4 separate regions of the Homo sapiens genome follow, and all the other regions are linked to region 3. The links are contacts of gene promoters, found by promoter capture Hi-C in blood cells and fetal thymus (Javierre and others, 2016). All regions are on one chromosome and are shown on one strand. Each heading gives the region's core, a stretch centred on a gene start or on the middle of the fragment in contact. The rest is flanking DNA. Distances are from core to core; before and after follow the strand shown. Region 1 overlaps RSPO3 (R-spondin 3). Region 2 overlaps LOC105377989 (a long non-coding RNA gene). Region 3 holds the start of TRMT11 (tRNA methyltransferase 11). Region 4 overlaps RSPO3 (R-spondin 3).

Evidence for each region. Contacts are between HindIII fragments. The CHiCAGO score rates a contact against its expected background, and 5 or more counts as called.
Region 1: a contact is called between a fragment that was not itself captured here and the fragment with the promoter of TRMT11 in region 3, in 8 of 17 cell types (monocytes, megakaryocytes, M1 macrophages and 5 more). The highest score is 10.3, in monocytes.
Region 2: a fragment that was not itself captured here is called in contact with the fragment with the promoter of TRMT11 in region 3 in 4 of 17 cell types (M2 macrophages, M1 macrophages, M0 macrophages and 1 more); the score reaches 11.5 in M2 macrophages.
Region 4: a contact is called between a fragment that was not itself captured here and the fragment with the promoter of TRMT11 in region 3, in 1 of 17 cell types (endothelial precursors). The highest score is 5.1, in endothelial precursors.

Annotation. Positions count from the first base shown.
Region 1 is chr6:127,125,134-127,128,257 of GRCh38, reverse strand. All of the region lies in intron 1 of RSPO3 (R-spondin 3), which reads right to left. The region is part of intron 3 of LOC105377989 (a long non-coding RNA gene); the gene reads left to right. Among named protein-coding and RNA genes, the nearest start is that of RSPO3, 8.0 kb to the right of the region's middle. The HindIII fragment of the contact is 6,341 bases long and covers 1-3,124 here.
Region 2 is chr6:127,107,281-127,110,711 of GRCh38, reverse strand. The region is part of intron 4 of LOC105377989 (a long non-coding RNA gene); the gene reads left to right. Among named protein-coding and RNA genes, the nearest start is that of RSPO3, 9.7 kb to the left of the region's middle. The HindIII fragment of the contact is 5,877 bases long and covers 1-3,431 here.
Region 3 is chr6:125,985,197-125,988,273 of GRCh38, reverse strand. It overlaps TRMT11 (tRNA methyltransferase 11), which reads right to left and starts at 1,734. Exons shown (of 13, transcript NM_001031712.3): 1 at 1,652-1,734. The coding sequence starts at 1,723. RefSeq lists enhancers at 851-1,680, 1,214-1,703, 1,681-2,511. The HindIII fragment of the contact is 7,229 bases long and covers 1-3,077 here.
Region 4 is chr6:127,145,293-127,148,634 of GRCh38, reverse strand. The region is part of intron 1 of RSPO3 (R-spondin 3); the gene reads right to left. All of the region lies in intron 3 of LOC105377989 (a long non-coding RNA gene), which reads left to right. Among named protein-coding and RNA genes, the nearest start is that of RSPO3, 28 kb to the right of the region's middle. The HindIII fragment of the contact is 383 bases long and covers 1,360-1,742 here.

The DNA of each region.
Region 1 (3,124 bases), core at 60-2,559, 1.1 Mb before region 3:
TGTTAATGCTCATGGTAAAAGTAATATAAATAACAGACTTTATGAAGTGCCATAAAGATAACTTTTTCTGGATAACAATAGCCAGTAAAATATCTATTGTGGTTGTAAATTACATAGAAGGATTCTGATTTTTAACTGCAAAATTACAGACTTTTCTAACATTCTCATGCCTACATTAATCTTTTCTTGGTTACGCGCACCATAGATGGAAATAACAATCACAGAGTCTTTCATATAAACTGTGCAATCCTATTGCTTTTAATGAAAAAATCAGCAAACTTTTATGTTTAAAACTCATCAATAAGACAGGTTTAAGGAAAGAGAGGACAAAGGGTAAGGAAAAGAAAGCGATGTAGAGGAGGGTACTTGAATACCAGAAGCAACCTTTATAGTAAATGTTTGAAAAAAGGCTTATGGTTTGTTAAATGAGGATAAAGAAAGAAGGAGGAAAGAAGAGAGAGTAAGAGAAAGAAAGAGTGGGTGGAATTTAGAAAATGCACCATGATTGCCTCAAGTACCAACCCTAATGTTAAGGTGGAGTGAAGAATCAAAGAAGGACCTTGGCTTTGGAGTCTAGCCTAGACTGGAATCTGAGGTCCACCTCAATTCCTTGAGTGATCAATGAAAGTGGGACTATTGGCACATTCCTTACAGGTGGGTATGAAGATCAAATGAGATAATTTTTGCAAAAGCATCAAGCAAAGGGTCTGGCACTTACTGGTGATTATAACATGGGAGCTATTGAGTAATAACTATTATCATAATACTCACTTTAGTAAGTATACATGCATATTTAGATAAGATGTACATAAATATAACAGTGGCTCTGAGAGCTAAAAAGCTGTTGTTTGCCATGTAGCACTTACACATACTTTGGCATATTATTTCTTGTTGGCAAAATGTGATTGATATTTGCTTTGCATATATGACAGCCTTTGTTGAGATGACAGTGTTCTTACCTTTGAAGTCTCTTTGTAGAACAGGGGAACAAAAAACAATGAGAAAGGACTGCTGTTTTTCTTACCAACTTATCGAGCATATGTTAAGAAAACAGTGTTCTAAAATAAGCAGCTCACAAATTCTGTTATTTTATATTGTGTGGTAGTGGTTTGTATTATGTGGTTATAAAATGGGGGCTGCTTTACCACTTACTGTCAGGAATGTGCTTTGTATTGGGGTATAATTATAAATATGCTTACCAGCTAGTTTTCTAAGGACAATTTTTGGGAGTGAATGTAGCACATTGCGTTACTGTGTGTTCATTTTAGAAAGGTGTTTTAAGGTAACTAGATCTAATACCATGCCCATGCCAAGTGCAAAGAAGAGGACTAGGAGAATAAACTGCTTTGGATACAGAAGCCCTAAAAATAGGAGGAAAAAGGGGGAGAGCTTAGGGGGCTGACTGTTACTGAGGCTAGACAGTTACTCAGTGGGGATGTTGTAGAAGTGATCCCACACTGTGTAGATGGACTGGATTCTTTCAAGTTTTATCCCTTCCAGAGATTCTCTTATATTAAGAGAGCATACTTTGTAGAGAAATCTACTTAAAAGTAGAACGCTACAGTGATGAACAGATACTGCACCCAATTCAATGGTTCAAAATTTTATTTTTATACCTTATGTAAACTTGCCTTTCATTATCATAGTTTTTCAGGTCTCCTTATGATCTGTGGCAAAGTTCCACAGGTAAGAAGACTTCTAAGTGCAATTTTCAGCTGCAAGATTTGGCAACAACAACTACAGCTTATGATACCAGTGACCATCCTCTTATGTAACACAGAGAGTATTATAAAAACCATAAAAAACCACAGTTGAAAATGATATATTAAACTACTTAAAATAGACAAGGTACCTTAATGTAATTAATGTTATTTTGACATTACCAAGAAGAGTGAGTCTCAATGTCATCACAGCACACATTTTTTACACCCCCGTATCAGTAGGAGAGCACACACTTTTGATAATAATAAACATCATTTTTATGTGAGTGACTCTGAAGTACTTGTGTTCAGCCCTAATACTCTAATCCCAGGTGTTTTGAGTTTTGAGTTCCTAAACGTCCTACTGGCTCCTCAAAAGAGAAACAGATTTCCAACAAGACCTGCTTCTCCTATTTTTCTTTTTGTTGATCGTCATCATTTTTCCATTCACCCAGACCTGAGTCCTTATACTCCAAAGTTTATTGCCAAATATGGGCCTCCATCTCTTTCCCTTTCATATGCAATTAATTGCCAAGAACTACTGATTTGATTAAAAGAAATTATCTGCTGTATATACTCTTTTGTGCAGTCATTCACTGTTGTAGCCTAGGGCCTTATTTTCTTAAACCTGGACTATTGTAAATCATCTCTTCCTCATAATTACAGGCCACCTCTGAAAGCCTGCCATGCTAGGGAAGCTCTGAAGTGACCCTTGAGTCAGTATTCTGATCCAGCTCCCTAACCCTGAGCCTAAGGACAAGATGGGGTAGACTGAGTATGCTGATTGTTGCTGTGACTATGGTTTTCAGACAATAAAAAATGTGAATTATGAGGTATATCATAATTAATTCATTATCCACATTGATCACTTACTCGTTAACCTTTATGTGATAAATTTACTTATAATCAATGAATGTTTATGTTTGTTTGTACTCAATCTTTATCTGTTAAATTTAGTTGAATAAGACAAGTTATTATTTAACTCCCTAGTTGTGACTTATATTCTCATACCAAAAGATTAAATGTTGAGGAAACCGTAGGGATCACTAGATCTAAGTTTTTGATCAACCTCCTCATTTTGCAGATGAAAAACTTTAGCTTGGTATAGTAAAAGGACTTTCTTGGGTTATTCAGGCATTAGCAGCAATGCTGGATCTGGAACCCAGGTCTTTAACTTCTGAGTCTACCTTCTCCCAACATACACTAAGGAGCCTTCTTTCTCAGGTCTCAGATTCTACCACAAACTTATGATACTTGCAATTAATTAAATTCTAAAGGTCAGATGAAACATTAATAAGGCGGTGTTTTGAAGAGTAGATTAGATGTTTGCATAAAACATAAGGACAGTTAAAAGCCATTAAATATTTATTTAATTGGACAATCATATTCTTTAGTACCAATGAATTTTCTCTAAAAAAATTCAA
Region 2 (3,431 bases), core at 31-2,530, 1.1 Mb before region 3:
TTTGATAGGAGGAACTGCAAAGAATTGTAGGCTATTTTAAATCCACCCCAGAGCTAATGGGCAGGTTATTAACCTCTGTATAAAGCCAAATGTGGAGCTCTTTGGCCAGTCAGAAAGTTGATACCTAATTGAAGCAAGAAAGCAAAACTGAGGTTTACCATATACCCTATCTGACCACCTATACAGAGTGTCTGGTTCTAGATCAGTTCTTTCTCTGAATTGAGTTTTAATTCTATACTTGAAGCCTCACAAAATCAAAGCAGTACAAAGGTCCAGGCCATTGGTGGGACAAATTTTCAGCTTTGGGTACATAAATAAGAAGCAATTATGGTTTGGAACTCAGAGAAAAATCTTTTCAATGTTCTCATTTTGGGGGAAGTCACAAGTGTTTTTCTTCAGCCTGTTATTTCCTTCCCTTTTCTCTTGTCTTAAGAGCTAGGATAGTATTACTTAAGGTTTGTGAATATAATATAGACATCTTCTCATTGAAAAGAATCCTGTGAAAATGCCTCCTTACCAGGAGGCCTTCCTTTTGTCTACTAAAAATGGCAGCAGAACTTATCATTTTAGTGCATAGAAACATGAAGCACTATCTCATTAAATTCCATAATTCTGAGATTTAATGACATGAGGTACAATCATTTTGCCCTACAACATAGATTTACCTTAAGTGTTTAGGAAAGGAGGCAATTTAACTAATGGATTTATTTCCTCATTGTGACTTGATTCTCTGATTTAGTTAGGAATGATATATTGGGTTTTCATGAGTTTTTGGTGAATTTTCACCATTATGATCATAAGAATCAATACTTTTTTAAAGTAACATTGTAAGTTATATACAATATGGTGTCTTTTGTGTTTTTAAAAAAATACACTGTACTATGGTTCGAATGTGCTCTCTGCCAAATTTATATATTGAAACTTAATCTCTAATGTGATTGTATTTTTTAGAGGTAGGGCCTTTGGGGAGGTGATTAAGTAATGAAGGCTCCACTCTTATAAATTGGATTCATGCCCTTATAAAAGTGGCTCCAGGAAGCTCCCTTTGCCCATTGTTCCATGTGAAGACATAGCAAGGAGGTGCCATCTTTGAAGCAGAGAGCAAGCTCTCAGCAGACAATGACTCTGCTGACACCTTGATCTTGGACTTCCCAGCCTCCAGAACTGTAACAAATACATTTATGTTGTTTTATAAATTACTCAATCTAAAGTATTTTGTTGTGGCAGCCCAAAAGAACTGGTATACTAGATATTCAAGGACAGCCTGGTTTCTAATAGACAACTAATGCCTTGAGGATTTCTTCTTCAAATAATTATGTTTGTATGTGTAGCTTGCTTTCCCTCTGTTCATGTACATTTGTATTTTTCCTCTACTTATTTTTTAGCATTGTTAAAATTATTCACATCGTTATGTATACTACTTGAAATCATCACAATTAGAAATTTATTTTAAATGCAAATATTCCCAAGAAAGTTAAGAATGGGTGAATTATTTTAGTTAGATTGTTTCCTTCTGAACACATCTCTGAAATTTGACAAGGAGAGAGGGTCTGACCTGTTCAGGGGCATTATGAAGTGTGAGTATGAGGGAGACCTGTGTCTGATAAGGACACCGAGTAACTAAGGGAGGTGGAAAAGTGAGTGCAGAAGCAGAAGCTGCAAGAAAAAGCAGCAGCAAAAGGAGCTGTGTGAGTGTGCTAGGGATGAACTTAGTAAAAGGATGCACTTAGTTTTCTAGAGATAGTTTTATGAAGTATTAAGAAAAATCTACATTTGACACATTATGGCAACCTCCTAAACATAGGAGGAGATTGCATAAAATATTATACATAAATTGTTCTCAAAACAATGACATAAATTCACCTGATATTTGACATGAGATAGGAAGGAAGAAAAATTACCCAGAACATGCCCCAAAGATGGAAAGTGGGTGAGTATATATTATGGAATGCAAGGATGTGGGGCAAAATGCATATAGTTTCTTTTTACTCATTTTCTTTGAAAAATTAACTGTTTTCAAAATTGCTCCTATACGCATACCTGTTAGTGAGGACTGTATGAAAGTATTTTCTCTGCATGACCATCTTCTAAATGCCTCTTTGAGAGAAACTTCAGTGACAACATAGACACGTTTGATTGGATACTAGTACTTATGTTACCTTCTTTTTAAAAGAGTAACCACCTAATAAAAATGTTTTATTTAATATATAGCCCTGAAGTTTAATATTCTAGATTGATTAATTTGCAGGTGTTCGTTTTTAAAATGTTAAGTGGACATATTTTTCATTCACTGAAAATTATGTTGCCTTACAGTTATTCTCTACCTATTGAATCAAGGTCATTCATTGTTTGGGGTAAGGGGAGATAACTCCTAGACCACAATTTCACTATTGTGCTTTGAGTCTCAGAGCTGCCTTCCTTGAATCCCCAGTAGTTAGTCTTGCCATGGATTTGCTGAGAGAAAGAGATTTCTAAACTCCAAGTTTCCTTTATATATACCAGCAAAGTTTTGGTTCCAAATATGCAGTTTCACTGAAAGCCACAGTGTAGTGAGGAATCAGGACTGTAAAAAGTGTCCTTGTCAGAAGGAAGAGGAAGTGAAGAACCTTTCTGGAACTGGAGGAAAGAGTGGGAGTGTTGGGCAAAGAAATCAGACTCTAGTCTACTCTTGACAATTGATCATTCATAGAAGGAGTAGAATTATTATGCACCTTTAGGGCCTTGTGTAAAGTGTTCACAGAGAACTAATAATCAAAGGTAGAAGATGAACTAAAATCACCCCTGTGCTGGTAGAAACTAATGTAATTGTTCAAAGGCAGATCTGCCAGGGGCCAGAGACATCTTGCACAACTGTCAAGTATGGGTGAAAAGTGCTCAAAAAAGTTTTCCCTGCAGTGTTGGCCCTGGCATGGCATTGTGTGGTAGCCATGGGGCTGTTCAGCAAATCGTTCTGTCTCTCCTCAATCTGTTTTCTGGACACGTGTAGAGATTGCATTTCCATGCCTCTCCTTGTCACTTTTTTTTTTTGAGATGGAGTCTTGCTCTGTTGCCCAGGCTGGAGTGCAATGGCACAATCTCGGCTCACTGCAACCTCTGCCTCCCAGGTTCAAGTGATTCTCCTGCCTCAGTCTCCCGAGTAGCTGGGATTACAGGCACGCACCACCGCACCCAGCTAATTTTTGTATTTTTAGTAGAGACAGAGTTTCACCTTGTTCCCCAGGCTGGTCTTGAACTCCTGACCTCAGGTGATACACCTGCCTCGTCCTTCCAAAGTGCCTGTTACTTTTAAAGTTAGGCATGGGATGTATAAATGGAAATAAATGAGAGAGAAGTGACATTAGTCACTTGAAGATAAAAGTTTGAAGAGCCAGGGTTGAGTTTACCACATTCTTTTTCTAGTGCTATCGTGATCATAGAAGCATAAGACAGAG
Region 3 (3,077 bases), core at 485-2,984:
CTTCTCCTACTAAAACTCAACATATTCGCTTTAGCAAAAATCACCAATTAATTATCTTCTAATTGAGACTATCAATGACACTTTTTCATTCTTTTCTCACTAAAAAGCAACTGCATTCGACATTTATCCATTTGTCCCTGCTTCCTAAAACTTTACCCTTCTGATTTCTGCGGTCTCACATCCTTCTGGCACTTGCCCATCTTCTTCATGGCCTCCTCCGACTTTCCCTTAATATCAATGCTTCCAAGCATCTATACTTGGCCCGCTACTCTTTTGACCTTATCCTTTGAGTAATTTCTTCCCCGCTCCTAGTTTTCATATGAAGAAGACTCCCAAATATTTATCACTAGTCCAGATCACTCTGCCATACTCTATGCATATTCATATATCCACCGCCTCTTGGTCATCTCAGGTTGATGTTACACAACCACATCAAATTCAGTGTAAACAAAATTTAAATCTTACATCTGCCTATGTTCTCTATTTTAAATGGAGACACTCCTACCTATATACACCCCAGGAGTCATACCTGACTGGTGCCCCTTTCCCACATATTCAATCAATCCAGCCTTAATGACTGTATGGCCTAAATATTTTCCCAGTCTATCCCATCCTCTTACTCCTTGCCCTAGGTCAGACCTTCTTAATCTATTAACAAGACTATTCCCACAGACTCCTAGTCTCTGGCTCAAGTCTTATTCTTTTCAAATCCATCCTCCATAGTGTTGTCAAACTGATTTAATTTTGTGGTCACTTTTTTACTTAAGGCTTTTCAATAAATCCCCCTTCCAAGCTCCAGGGTACTCAAGGTTTTCATTTTCTGGCCTCGATCTACTTCCCTTGCTCTCTTCTTACCACTCTGCCACATAACTAGTGATCCAGTAATAATGAACACCTTGTAATTCTAATTTACTGATTTATCTCCTTGGCCCTCTAACTCCTATTCATCCTTTATTTCAAGTGTCATCTCCTCTGGAAGCCCTCTTAAAGGCCAACATCCCCAACCCCTCAGGTAGATTAGATTTCCCTTCCACGTGCTCTCATATTTCCATGTGCATCTATCACTGCACTTACCGACGCTCTTTTGTCATTCTACGCCTATGTGTCTGCTCAGCCCTTACTCTAAACAGTAAGCTCCTAGAGGGCAGAGATTGCTTACATCATCGTTACATGCCCAGCGTACCGATCTTCGACTACATGCATTCTGAAAACGTTTCTTGAATAAATAAAACACTCTTCTCAACTTCTCCATCATCTAATCCCCACCACCATCCCCTCCACTGAGCTTGATCCGCAGATTCCAATACTTCAAACACCAGCCTGAGCATTTGTTAGCTGTCTCTATTCTCCGCTAGACGAAGAGCTCCGGGAGTGAGATGACCGGTCATATTCACCTGCCTAACTCCGGTACTTGATACACGGGCAAAAGAATGAAAAGTTTAAGCAGGCCGAGGGGTTTGGTCTCGGACTTCTCTCACACACACCCTCCGCCAAGCTCACCCCGCCCGAGGACTGGGGACGCGTGACCCGCGCAGACCAGCGAAGACCCCCGAATCCCAGCTTCCTCGGGCTATGCAGATCACCTCCACCCACTCCACTCCACTCCAGCGTCCTCTTCCGTCGGAAGTTCCGGAGGGCGCTACGGACTCACCGGCAGGCGGAACTCCAGATGCTCCTGCGCCATGAGGAGCAGATACCTGTTAAGGGTACACGACAGCGCCATTGCAGCTGCCCACCGTGCGCCTGCGCGGCCCGCGCTAGGTCCCTCTTTCTCCCTCCCAAAGCCCAGTCTCCACAGAGACAGAGCCTGAAGGGCCGGAAGCGGAAGCTCTGCGAGGCAGGCGCTATCCCGACGTTTCTCGCGCTCCGAGTCCGAAACTCCGGCCGCTGTGGGAGGGGCTTCCTCACCTGTGAATGCCTGGTGGTTAGGGGTCTCCCAGCGCTGGTAGCTGGTGAGCGGGGACGCGTGGCTTTCAGGAGCAGCCTGTGATAATAAGACAGTATATTTCCAAGTTATCGTTCCACTTGGAGTGTGCTTCCAGCTTTCTCTACAGCCCTTCAAAACCTGTTCTTCAAAATTGGACTGAAATTTCACCATTTCCTTGGAAATTTCACCATTTCCTTGTAGGTTTGTCTAACCAGCACAGCTTTGGGAACTGATTTAGTTGGGCCAGTCATTTAACAGTATATTTTTCGTATTTATGTAACAACTTTTCGAGAGCACATGCCTTATAACCCAATTATAATAAACTCTTGAGGTCTGATATAATCTTTTATGGTTCACTCTATTCTTAACAAAAACCAAAAGAATATCTTCCTCAAAGTAGGCAATAATTATTAGGTTGTGTTATTTGTTAGACTCAGGACTAAATCCACAGCCAGCCATAAATTAAAACTTGGAGAAAGCTCACACTGGCACAGATTTCATAGCAGATAGTTTATGAAATATATTTTAATTGCATATTCTATGTATATATGTGACTTTTTTTTTTTAAGACAATCTTGCTCTGTCACCCAGGTGAGTGCAGTGGCGCAATCATAGCTCACTGTAACCTTGAACTCCTGGTCTCAGGGGATACTCCTACCCTAGTCTCCCAAAGTGCTAGAATTACGGGCTCAAGCCCTCCCTCTGGGCTATTTCTGCTTTTGAGAGTACCGAGCCCTTTGCCCTATTAAAAATTATTTATTTTGCATTTCTCTGTGGTATTGTACAAGGTGCAAAAGAGTATGTATCTGGCATATCCCCAGCGGCATGTGCCAGAAACGTAGTTGATGCGCAGTGGTAGTGATTAAGAACATAGGCTGTGGTGTCAATATTAGATTCAAACCTCACTTCCACCATTTACCATGTATATGCTCTTAACCTCTCCGAGCTTGAGTTTTCTTTTAAAAATGGAAAAACACACTGCCTCCTGCAAAGGATTGTTACAAGGATTAAGTGGAATAATGTTCATAAAGTGTTGAATATAACATCTGGCATATTGAATGGGGCCAATAAGTGGCACTTGACATTTTTCTTAAGAAAATCACATGAGAATTTTTGTTAGCAAGAGATCTGTTTTTGTTAGGAATATGTC
Region 4 (3,342 bases), core at 302-2,801, 1.2 Mb before region 3:
TGTAGAAAGACATTACAAAGGTTAAATCACAGATAAAAAAATGACATTTTCTGGGCAGGATATATGTTCTCTTTCATTAGCTTTCAATTTGTTGGTAATGGGTGAATGAGGTGGGATTTTTTTTCCTATCTTTTTTTATGATCTTTTATTTCCCTTTAGCACATGTATTGTTTTTAATTTCAAAGTTCTTAAAATTGAGCATTTGAAAAATAAAGAATATACTGCCTCAAAGGACTTATATATGTGTGTGTATACATAGTCTCTTTATCATATAATATATATTTTTAAATTATGTATAACTAATTATATATATTCTCTTCATATATATAATATCCTCACTGAACTAGCACCCTGGGAGATTGGGGACTGGTAATTTTGTGCTCATTTACACAGTGAAATTAATACACATTTGCTTTGCTTTTCATTTATGTAATGGAGGATAAGCATATGTTTCTAATTTCTTCAGTAAGTAAAATAATGTACATTAGGGCTTAACTTGAGTAAGGACACTAAGTTTTATATCTGTTTTGAACTATGGTGTATTAGAGAACACAATTTTACTTTTTGATCCAATGCAAACTGATGCTGAAGCTATGTTAGCTGTTGAGCTCCCCAGAATTCCTTCATTAAATATTTCTTCTCACACGAGCTTAATAATTGCCAGTTCAAATAGATATAATGGTGAAAATGTGATGCTTATCTCACCAGTGTTTCCATGTGGATCATATATGACTACTTATGGTAATTTATGTTCAATATTTTCTCTTTTGGAACTGGAGTCTTACAGTTTCTGTGCCCTTATCTTCTACTTACTCGAGTGAAATGTATATTTGGTGAGAATGGACCAGTCTACCTTAAGAATCACTGTTACACATATTCCAGGGTTTCCAAGAGTTACCAGTGTGTGAGTTAAGAGTGTTCATTAGCAAGTCTGAACAAACAGAAATGAATATTTGGGAGACTCATGTTTGCTTAAGATCATCACAACTTTAAATCTTCTTTTGACTATTAAATAGTCATCATCACCTCTGCATGAGCTGGTAAAAACTACTGACTAACGGATGTTTCTCATATAGCTGGTGTTTAGGATGATTTCTTTTCCTAATGTGTTCTCCACTCAAATATATTGCTAATAGCTTTATTGTCCTTTGAAGATGCCAGAAGAAAAAAAAACCATAATCCTTAGAGAAAGAAAGATTGATGCACAGGAATCTAAAGGCATCCCAGTGTATTTCTGGCTTCTCTTGTTGGTAGTAGAAGGAGTAGGCTCTGATGGACCTTAACATTATTAAATCTGTCTTTACAGTGACGTTTGGTTATTACTAAGTTCTTTACCACAAAAACAAATCCCTCCAAGCTTAGTTAGAAGAGGTACCTATAAGACCAAACAGCCTTACCACAGGGGTGCACGGGTTAGTTACAGAGAGGTCATTCGGTTGACCAGCATCCTCTGCCTGTAGGAAACCATCCCTGAATCAGCCACAGGAACCACAAGCAGCTCATTCTCATTCCAAGACGTTTTGTAAATAAACTAAGGAAATGTGTGGGGGAAGGGAAGTCTGCTTTTCCTGTGCATGCTCCTCTGTGGGGGCGGGGTAGTCACATAAAGTGGCACAGGAGGTTTAGACATTACAGGGCCTGGGGGACTTGTAAGTGAAACTACTTTCCAAGTAACAGGGTCATTTTTCATGCCAGTAACTCAGCATTGGTGACTTACAGAAAACGTGTACATATTGTAAGCTTGCAAAGATCCTAAAAAGTAAAAGGGGCAAGAGATTTCCATGTGTTTGGAATCTATCATTATCCATTTCAAGAAGCGAGAGGTGTAGATAAAAACTTGTAAGACCTTTTCATAGAATTGTCTATAGAAGAGTGGACCTCAACTTGAAAGAAAAGTGCTTCAAACTCAGGGCACTAAGAGACTCTGGGTTTAAGAAAGATGGACCATATTGGTCCATGCCAATCCATCCCTATCTCTGAAATGTGGCTGCTGAAAGAAAACACAAAATTCTAATTTTATGTATTCTGAAACTTTTGCCAATTATGATATAATTTTAAATATATCAATTATTAATATAAACATGATTTACATATTCAGAGCTTCAAAAACTGACATTCCTTAAGATAAATTTTATTTTAAAAACTAGGTTTTGAATGTTTGGAATGTTCTTCAGGAGAGAGCTTTGAATAAGTCTCATGATTGTAACTGTATCCACTGAAATTATGAGATGTGCCAAAATACCTTGCTTGATTCCCTCTGTCTCTAAAACTTTTACTGATGAAATGGAGCACAGTCAACATTGTGCTACAATAATTCTTTTTACCTTTTTTTTTTCATATAATGACTTCCTAGGCAAGGGTTTTTAAAAATTTGATTTTTGAAAAAGCAAGAAAGACCTAGTTGTCCCAACTTGCAATAAAATTTTATGTTTTAATCAGTGAATTTTGAATATGGCAATGAATTTTGAATATCAAATGATGGCAAACCTTATTTCTTCAGGAAGGTTTAAATGCTGGCTGTGGGAAGAGAGAGAAATGAAGACTATGAAGCTCAGATTCAATGAGTCTAGATTTTTTTTATGGTTATGTAGTGTAGTGACAGCTTTCTTGAATGCCGTATAAGGATCATACAAATTACACAGTCAGTATTACACAACTAAGTACAAATTTCCCAAACTTCATTTTAAGGCAAGAGATTTTACTTTTTATATGGAAACCACAAAAAACTTTGGTCTATATTGACTGTAACAACACTTTCAGCCATAAAATCTTGTGATTCTGAGACAGAAAATAGAATTTTACTTTCTCATGTGTCTTTCTTTTTATTCCCCATTCAATATTAACTTCATTTTGAATTTCTAAATCACCTTTTTCAAACAATATTTTCCTACTATTATTTGAAGTTGTTGGTGGAGAGGTAGGGAAAGTTTCACAGAATCTCAGTGTTTGAACTTAATCTTAGAAAATGAGTTGGAGTTTATGAGTATGTAAGTGGCCATGTTTGGCTAGAGAAGGAAACACTACAGTGACCCAAGCTGGGAAGGAGACTGGCATGAGTTTGATGCAACTGGTGCATAAGTAGTGGGGAATGAAGATATAAGGAATAACAAGAAGATTGGAAGTATAAAATAGATCTAGATTACAGAAACTTTTGTGAGATAGGCCAATGAAATTCTTCTGTAAACATAGGGTGTTTCAATCACACCAGTGATTGAAATTTAAGATTTGAATTGGAAAGGAAATTTCCCTGGCAGTGTGGCAGGCATGCAAACTAGGAGAAGAATAATGTAGTAGTCAAGGTAAGAGGCTGATGATAACTTAAAGTACGGCAGAGGCAATATA